Regions from separate parts of the Homo sapiens genome. Here regions 1 and 2 are each linked to region 3. The links are contacts of gene promoters, found by promoter capture Hi-C in human tissues and cell types (Jung and others, 2019). All regions are on one chromosome and are shown on one strand. The core of a region is centred on a gene start or on the middle of the fragment in contact, and the rest is flanking DNA. Distances in the headings are between cores, read along the strand shown. Region 1 has its middle 110 kb from the start of UHRF2. Region 2 overlaps GLDC (glycine decarboxylase). Region 3 holds the start of GLDC (glycine decarboxylase).

Region 1 (2,917 bases), core at 199-2,698, 130 kb after region 3:
AACCCTAGAAGAAAACCCAGGCAATACCATTCAGGACATAGGCATGGGCAAGGACTTCATGACTAAAACACCAAACGCAATGACAACAAAAGCCAAAATTGACAAATGGGATCTCATTAAACTAAAGAGCTTCTTCACAGCAAAAGAGACCATCAGAGTGAACAGGCAACTTACAGAATGGGAGAAAATTTTTGCAATCTACTCATCTGACAAACGGCTAATATCCAGAATCTACAAAGAACTCAAACAAACTTACAAGAAAAAAACAAACAACCCCATCAAAAAGTGGGCAAAGGATGTGAACAGACACTTCTCAAAAGAAGACATTTATGCAGCCAATAGACACATGAAAAAATGTTCATCATCACTGGCCATCAGGGAAATGCAAATCAAAACCACAATGAGATACCATCTCATACTGGGTAGAATGGTGAACATTAAAAAGTCAGGAAACAACAGGTGCTGCAGAGGCTGTGGAGAAATAGGAATGCTTTTACACTGTTGATGGGACTGTAAACTAGTGCAACCATTGTGGAAGACAGTGTGGTGATTCCTCAAGGATCTAGAACTAGAAATACCATTTGACCCAGCCATCCCGTTACTGGGTATATACCCAAAGGATTATAAATCATGCTGCTATAAAGACACATGCACATGTATGTTTATTGCGGCACTATTCACAATAGCAAAGACTTGGAACTCACCCAAATGTCCAACAATGATAGACTGGATTAAGAAAATGTGGCACATATGCACCATGGAATACTATGCAGCCATAAAAAAGGATGAGTTAATGTCCTTTGTAGGGACATGGATGAAGCTGGAAACCATCATTCTCAGCAAACTATCACAAGGACAAAAAACCAAACACCGCATGTTCTCAATCATAGGTGGGAATTGAACAATGAGAACACTTGGACACAGGAAGGGGAACGTCACACACCGGGGCCTGTCATGGGGTCGGGGGGAGGGGAGAGGGATAGCATTAGGAGATATATCTAATGTAAATGATGAGTTAATGGGTGCAGCACACCAACATGGCACATGTATACATATGTAACAAACCTGCATGTTGTGCACATGTACCCTAGAACTTAAAGTATAATAAAAAATAAAAATAAATTTAAAAAAAGATAATTTGGAGGGAAGTAAAACTAGTGTGAGCTACTTGTCTTAAACATAAAGAGACAAAGCTTACCCATTAAAAGACAAGACTATGCTAAAGGATAAAGGTGAATGAAAAAAGAAGTTTAGAATACAAGCAATATATCATTTGTATGTTTTCATTATAACACTTGAAATACCTACATTTTGTTTATTGAGACCTGTACATAGGTGCATTAAGTATAAAAAAACACTGAAAAGGTATCAAGAATTTTGCAGTAATGTCTTGGGTACGGAGGGGAATGGGAAGTGTGACTGAAAGTATGTCAGCTTCATTTGTATTATTTTATTCTTTCTTTTTTTTTTTTTTTTTTTTTTGAGATGGAGTTTTGCTCTTGTCGCCCAAGCTGGAGTGCAGTGACATGCCCTTGGCTCACTGCAACCTCCTCCTCCTGAGTTCAAGTGATTCTCCTGCCTTGGTCTCTTGGATGCCTGCCACGATGCCCGGCTAATTTTTGTACTGTTAGTAGAGACAGGGTTTCACCATGTTAGTCAGGCTGGTCTCGAACTCCTGAACTCAGGTGATCCACCCACTTCGGCCTCCCAAAGTGCTGGGATTACAGGTGTGAGCCACCGCGCCTGGTCTTATTCTTTTATTTAAGAAATAAGTACTTAACAACGACCAATACTGAATAATCTGCATGCTACAGTATTTGTCGTTTCCATATTTTAAAAACAAAAACCTCAATAAGCATAGAGCATAGCATAGATGTTACTTTCCTTCTGCTGGAAGTGTTTAGCTATAATAACAAAAGAAATAGCTTCTTTGTCACGTTGTTGGGAAGTCTGTCATATACTAAAGACACATAGGTGTTTAATAAATATTATTTTTCTTAGGCCAGGTGCAGTGGCTCACACCTGTAATCCCAGCACTTTGGGAGGCCAAGGCGGGTGGATCACGAGGTCAGGAGATGAAGACCATTCTGACCAACACGGTGAAACCCTGGCTCTACTAAAAAATACAAAAAAACAGCTGGATATGGTGGTGTGCACCTGTAGTCCCAGCTACTTGGGAGGCTGAGGCAGGATAATCACTTGAACCCCGGAGGCGAAGGTTGCAATGAGCCAAGATCGCACCACTGCACTCCAACCTCGGCGACAGAGTGAGGCTCCGTCTCAAAAATAAATAAATAAATAAATGAATAAAATGAAATATCAGTTTTCTCTGAAATAGAGTTCATTTGTGGTACAGTGTTATGGTTTCTTAGATTAAAAATCTGTCTTTGAAAGGCTGCTTTGGGCACTTCAAATTCCACACAAGATGGAGCCAAGTATATTCCAGTCTATTCCTCTTGCTAATTATAAATAAAATCTAGGCACTCTCGGATATGTGGAATATCCTGGGAGTAAGCTTCCTGGGGTCTTTCCTATACTTACTTTTTGCCTTCTTTTGCTTTCTTTTGGCTTGGGTGCAATGGTCTACAACCAGAAAACATCAATGGATACAGACAAAGAAAAAAAGCCAAATGAATGGGAAAAGGGGTAACGCCGCAGGAGAAAAAAACCTGCCTACTCCACATGAACACCATGGGAGAAAACCACACCCATTCTTCCTGGTCACTGGGTCTGGCCAAGACTGTGGAGTGGACCCTTGTAGACTATGCCTGCCCTGCACTGAGTGATTGGCTGCAAAAAGGCAGCACCCCATCCACCCCAAGTAGAGATTGAAGTAGGACTGAAGAGGAAAGGGAGCCACAGAAATTGATTCTTTAAATCTTTGCAGGAAGTCCTGGGCAGACCCTCTAGTAGACCA
Region 2 (3,142 bases), core at 510-3,009, 74 kb after region 3:
TGGGTAGGATGGATGGGGGTCGCTTTTTTCTTCTTCTTTTGCTTTATAACCCTTCTGCACTGATGATGGATTTTTTTTTAAAAAATCACATAAATGTATTCTTTTATTTATTTATTTTTTAAGATAGAGTCTTGCTCTGTTGCCCAGGCTGGAGTACAGTGGCACGATCTCAGCTCACTGCAACGTCTGCCTGCCGGGCTCAAGCGATTCTTGTGTCTCAGCTTCCCAAGTAGCTGGGATTACAGGTGTGTGCCACCACACCTGGCTAATTTTTGTATTTTTATTAGAGACAGGGTTTCTCCATGTTGGCCAGGCTGATCTTGAACTCCTGACCTCAGGTGATCCACCTGCCTCCACCTGCCTCAGCCTCCCAAAGTGCTGGGATTACAGCGATTCTTGTGTCTCAGCCTCCCTAGTAGCTGGGATTACAGGCGTGAGCCACCATGCCTGGCCCACATAAATGTATTCTATCATAAAAATTTTAAGTTCACCTGTGAAATAGATAGCATTATGTCCACGTGACAGATGGGATCCAGAGGAATAATTTGCTTGGAGCCAGACAGCTTTGAAAAGGGCAGCAAATAAAAAACAACTTTGATATTAGAGGTGAGAGAAACTCCCGGGTGGCTGCAGGAAATACCTGTTTGTGAGATCTGCCTGGGAATGAGTGACTTTAACATGATCTTGTTGTAGGAAACATTTAACAGTATGTGCCACCTAAGGGCTCCTGTTTGCAAACAACAGAAAATGGCTTGCATTAACTTCAGCAGAAAAATAATTTACAGGGAAGTTATTGGGCAGTTCACAGAGTTGATGGAAAAGCTGGAGAATTAGACTTCAGCAGTGAGTAAGACCCAAGAAAGGCTGGCAGCAGAGAAGAAAATGGAGTCTCACCATGCGAAGAGTCACCATCTTCACTGTGGGAAATATGGAACTGTCCCATTCCTTTGGTCTGTCCATCCAGATTCATAATGTCCTGGCTGGAGTATTGCACAGGATGTTTCACACCTCCATGTCTTATTAGTGTTTAGTGACTGGGAATGTCTAATCCTTTTTGCTTTCATAGGGGAGTGTAGGACCGTGTCTCTCCCATAGACTCACACAAAAGAGGGAATTCCCCCAGATAATAAAGCCACTGAAAGGCTCTGCATTCCCACACACACCTCTAAACTCAGCACCAATGAAAACCCAGTTGATTTTCAACATCCTAATGTAACCCTCCTTCGTACTTTTAAGCACATTGACAGCATGTCCACATGTCATTTTCCCAGCATCATTTTCTGAATTGCATTTGTACTTACTGCTCGTTGGCTATGGTAGTTTGCAGATACTTTCTCCCGTTCTGTAGCTTGTCCTTGTAACCCTAATGGGAGCAAAAAGTTTTTAATTATGATGGAGTTCAATTTATCAATTTTTTTCTTTTATGAATTGTGCTTTGGGTTTCAAATCTACCCTAGATCCCAACAATTTTTATTCTGTTTTTTGTTTTTCCCAGAAATTTCATAGTTTTATGTTTTACATTTAAGTCCATGATCCATTTACAGGTGATTTTTATATAAGCTGTGAGACTTAGATTGTGCCTATGGATGTCTAAGTGTTTCAGTTCCATTTATTGAAAAGGCGATCTTTCCTCCATTGAATTACTTTTGCAACTTTGTCAAAAATAGTTGGGTATATTTGTTTGGATCTATTTCTGGATTCTATATTCTATTCCATTGATCTATGTGTGATCTCTGTGTACATAGGCTTGATTATTGTAGCTATATATGATAGTCCCCACTTATTTGCAGTTTCAGTTACCCATGGTCAACTGGCTCAAAAATATTAAATGGAAAATTTGAGAAATAAGCAATTCATCCTAAGTTTTAAATTGTACACCATTCTAAATAGTGTGATGAAACCCTGCAGCATCTTGTTCCATCCCACCTGGGATGTAAATCAGCCCTTTGTCCAGCATATCCACTGTGTATATGCTACCCACCCATCAGTCACTTAGTAGCTGCCTTGGTTACCAGATCAACTGCTATGTTATCACAGCGCTTTCAAGGAACAGTGAAATCGTACAGTGGCACGATCTCACTGCAATGTCTCATTGCAAGGAACCCTTATTTTATTTAGTAGTGTACCCAAAGCACAAGAGTAGTGATACTGGTATGGTGGTGTAATTGTTCTATTTATTCTTAGTTATTGTTGTTAATCTGTAACTGTGCCTAATTTATAAGTTAGATTTTATCATAGGTATGTATGTATAGGAAAAATCGTAGTACACCTGGGTTTGGGTGCCATCCATGGTTTCAGGCACCCACTGGGTGTCCCGGAAGATATTTCCTGCAGATAAGAGGGGGCTACTGTTAATAAGCCTTGCCATCAGATGAACTGATTTGTGCCAGTTTCTTTCTTTTTTTTTTAAAAAAAGTAGCTATTCCAGTTACTTTGCCTTTACATATGCATTTTAGAATAATCTTGCTTGTGTCTATAAGAAAATCATTATTTTGGGGGAGGATGATGTATATTTTAGCTTCTAAATGTTACATTTTGTACAAAGGGCTGTATGCTGGATGCTATAGATATTATAGGTAGTTGAAGGGAACAAATTCACCTCATATTTAAACTTATAATTTATCACTCATAAAATAAATATTTTTCATGAAAAGGTATCATTTTAAATGTAATAAAATATTTTTTTTAAAAACATACCCCGAGAAACTTTTTTTTTTTTTTTTTTTGAGACAGAGTTTTGCTCTTGTTGCGCAGGCTGGAGTGCAGTGGTGCGATCTCAGCTCACTGGAACCTCCACCTGCTGGGTTCAAGTGATTCTCTTGTCTCACCCTCCTGAGTAGCTAGGATTACAGGCACCTGCCACAACGCCCAGCTAATTTTTGTATTTTTAGTAGAGACGAAGTTTCGCCATGTTGGCCAGGTTGGTCTCGAACTCCTGACCTCAGGTGATCTGCCCGTCTCAGCCTCCCAAAGTGCTGGGATTACAGGCATGAGCCACCATGCCTGGTCAAGAAACTTCTTAAGAAGTTCAAATATAAGAAGTAAAATAGGTCCACTGCTTATAAATAACTTCAATGGGAACTTCACTGAAATCACACACTAAAGGTGGCCATCCGTGCACAAACTATGATGGTGTGTTAAA
Region 3 (2,897 bases), core at 398-2,897:
GCCCTCTTTTCCATCTCTACTTTCCTGCCTCTCTGGATAGTCTGTGCCTCCTGGGTACGGAGCCCAGAATCTGTTAAGGGTGATTGGAGGAGGAAACTTAGCAGATAAGCAAGAAAGAGAACAGGTTTTATTTTCCCCTAGTCTAAGTACAAGTAATGTTCTGATTACTTCTGTCCTCTCTTCCCCATATTAGAACAACTGGAATTTTAAAAGTTCATTCTCTTGCTAAAACTGTCATGAGACAGCTGGAGATGGTACATTTACAAAAAATCCAGTTCTAGATGGCTAACTTTCAAAGTAAGACGACAGTGAACAATGTCTATCTTAATATCCTTTGTACTTTTGCTGGGCGCAGTGGCTCACGCCTGTAATGACGGATCACGAGGTCAGGAGATCGAGACCATCCTGCCTAAAACGGTGAAACCCCGTCTCTACTAAAAATAAAAATAAAAAATGGCCGGCCGTGGTGGCACGTGCCTGTAGTCCCAGCTACTCAGGAGCCTGAGGCAGGACAATCGCTTGAACCCGGGAGGTGGAGGTTGCAGTGAGCCAAGATCGCGCCACTGCACTCCAGCCAGGGCGACAGAGCGAGATTCCGTCTCAAAAACAACAACAAAATATCCTTTGTAGTTTTACACACACACGTATATGTATATACAGTACATATATTTAAAAAAACATATACACACACACACACAGTTCTTTTTTTTTTTTTTTTCCTGAGTCTCGTTCTGTGGCCCACGCTGGAGTGCAGTGGTGCGATCACATCTCACTGCAGCCTGAAACTCCCTGACTCAAGCAATCCTCCCACCTCAGCCTCCAGAGTAGCTGGGACTTCAGAAGCACGCAACCACGCCCCACTAATTTTTGTATTTTTTGTAGAGACAGGGTTTCACAATGCTGCCCAAGCTGGTCTCGAACTCCTGGGCTCAAGCTATCCTACCGCGTCGGTTTCCGAAAGTGTTGCGATTACAGGCGTGAGCCATAGCGTTACATGTGGTGGGGGGGAAGAGAGAGAAAGAGAGAGAGTGAGAAGAAGGAGGAGGAGGAGGAGGAGGAGAAAGAAGGAAGAAAGAAAAGAAAAGAAATATAGAGAGGGTGTTCAAATCTACTGTTCAAGTGCTTTCCATGTACATATAATCTCTTTTTAAAATCCCATCCAGCTCTGTTGAGATGAGAAAACTGAAGCTCTGAGAGGTTGAGTAACTTTATCACGCTCCCGCAAAGATAAAAGAACCGCCATCTGCCCATATTAATTTCCCTGAGATGAAATGTGACAGAGAAAGATACCTCAAAATTAAGGAAATGGAGAGCTTCGAGAATCATCTTCCATCTCCGCCGAGTCCCCCAGGAACTTGGCCCGGAGTCTTTGGGCTGTCCCACCTGATCTTGCCCCAGTGCGGCTCCACACCCTGGCGGGCGGCGTACGGAGCGTCCCGGCCCCCGGCACCAGCCAGCGTCGGAGTGGGTAGGACTGGAGATGGCAGCCTCCGGTCCAGGGGAAGCGGGACTCCACGGAAGGGCTGGGAAGAGGGTAGGAAGAGGGGGCGGGGGCGGGAACTGTTCCGCCCCCTCCCCCTCTGTCTACTTTCATTGGCCAAGGGCTTCCTGGCCCCAACCCACCTCCCGCCTCCAGGGCGCCGCTTAAAGTGTGCGGAGCAGGTGCCTTGGGTGGAGCCACAACTTTGCGCGAGTGTCTTGGTTGAGCGCAGCGCCCATTCATTGCCCGCGAGCGTCCATCCATCTGTCCGGCCGACTGTCCAGCGAAAGGGGCTCCAGGCCGGGCGCAGCCGCCACCCGGGGGACCGAGGCCAGGAGAGGGGCCAAGAGCGCGGCTGACCCTTGCGGGCCGGGGCAGGGGACGGTGGCCGCGGCCATGCAGTCCTGTGCCAGGGCGTGGGGGCTGCGCCTGGGCCGCGGGGTCGGGGGCGGCCGCCGCCTGGCTGGGGGATCGGGGCCGTGCTGGGCGCCGCGGAGCCGGGACAGCAGCAGTGGCGGCGGGGACAGCGCCGCGGCTGGGGCCTCGCGCCTCCTGGAGCGCCTTCTGCCCAGACACGACGACTTCGCTCGGAGGCACATCGGCCCTGGGGACAAAGACCAGAGAGAGATGCTGCAGACCTTGGGGCTGGCGGTAAGGACCTCCACCCGGCCCTCCGCGGCCTCCCCTCCGCCCTGCCCGGGCTCTGCCTGCGCGGCCTCCCGGCTCCTACCCTGAGCTCTGCTGCGCTCCGCGTGGTCCCCGCACCCTGGGTCCCGGGCCGTGGCGTGGAAGCAAATTCGTGCCTTTGGTCCTCGTGCCTTCTTACTTCTTAACAGCTTACTTTCTCCTGCACCCAGTCTTCGTGCCTCAAAAGTGTACATTTTTAAACCACCCCCAGCCCAAGTGGCCCTGTGGATGGACCTAAACTTTGCAAGAGGAGGAAGACCCCCTGATTAAGAGTGGGCTTACCGGTTAGCTCCGGTTGCAACTGAAATCCAACCCCGAGTGGCGGAATCTCCACCCCACTTCACGATTTTCTTTCCTCCAAATCATTCTGGCTTGCTCAGAGTTTTCCTTTTCTTTTAAAAAGAACCCTAATTAGGCGATTTCAATGAGGTTCCCACAAGGCTTTGTAGTCGCAAAACACAGAGGTGACTCTTTTAACTCAGAGGCACTTTCCTCTGCCTTGCGTTTTAATTTTAGAGCATTGATGAATTGATCGAGAAGACGGTCCCTGCCAACATCCGTTTGAAAAGACCCTTGAAAATGGAAGACCCTGTTTGTAAGTGGCCGGGAGGGCTCCCTTGGACTTAGATTATTCTGGCCTATTTGTCTTTTGTGGTTCCCTGAAAATCGAGCTCTGGGGTAAGGATTGCTCAGGACTGGGAATGTGTGGATTAAAATAAAACAGTGGCGG

The links. Contacts are between HindIII fragments. The study calls those that stand out against the background at their distance.
Region 1: a fragment that was not itself captured here is called in contact with the fragment with the promoter of GLDC in region 3 in 2 of the 25 tissues and cell types used here (aorta and mesendoderm cells).
Region 2: a fragment that was not itself captured here is called in contact with the fragment with the promoter of GLDC in region 3 in 3 of the 25 tissues and cell types used here (H1 embryonic stem cells, hippocampus and lymphoblastoid cells).

The regions. Positions count from the first base shown.
Region 1 is chr9:6,517,253-6,520,169 of GRCh38, reverse strand. No RefSeq gene overlaps it. Among named protein-coding and RNA genes, the nearest start is that of UHRF2, 110 kb to the right of the region's middle. The HindIII fragment of the contact is 4,034 bases long and covers 1-2,917 here.
Region 2 is chr9:6,570,439-6,573,580 of GRCh38, reverse strand. All of the region lies in intron 15 of GLDC (glycine decarboxylase), which reads left to right. Among named protein-coding and RNA genes, the nearest start is that of GLDC, 74 kb to the left of the region's middle. The HindIII fragment of the contact is 9,762 bases long and covers 1-3,142 here.
Region 3 is chr9:6,644,479-6,647,375 of GRCh38, reverse strand. GLDC (glycine decarboxylase) reads left to right here and starts at 1,647. Exons shown (of 25, transcript NM_000170.3): 1 at 1,647-2,131; 2 at 2,684-2,762. The coding sequence starts at 1,877. RefSeq lists enhancers at 640-739, 790-899, 1,880-2,437 and silencers at 1,570-1,819, 1,890-2,089, 2,130-2,199. The HindIII fragment of the contact is 11,104 bases long and covers 1-2,897 here.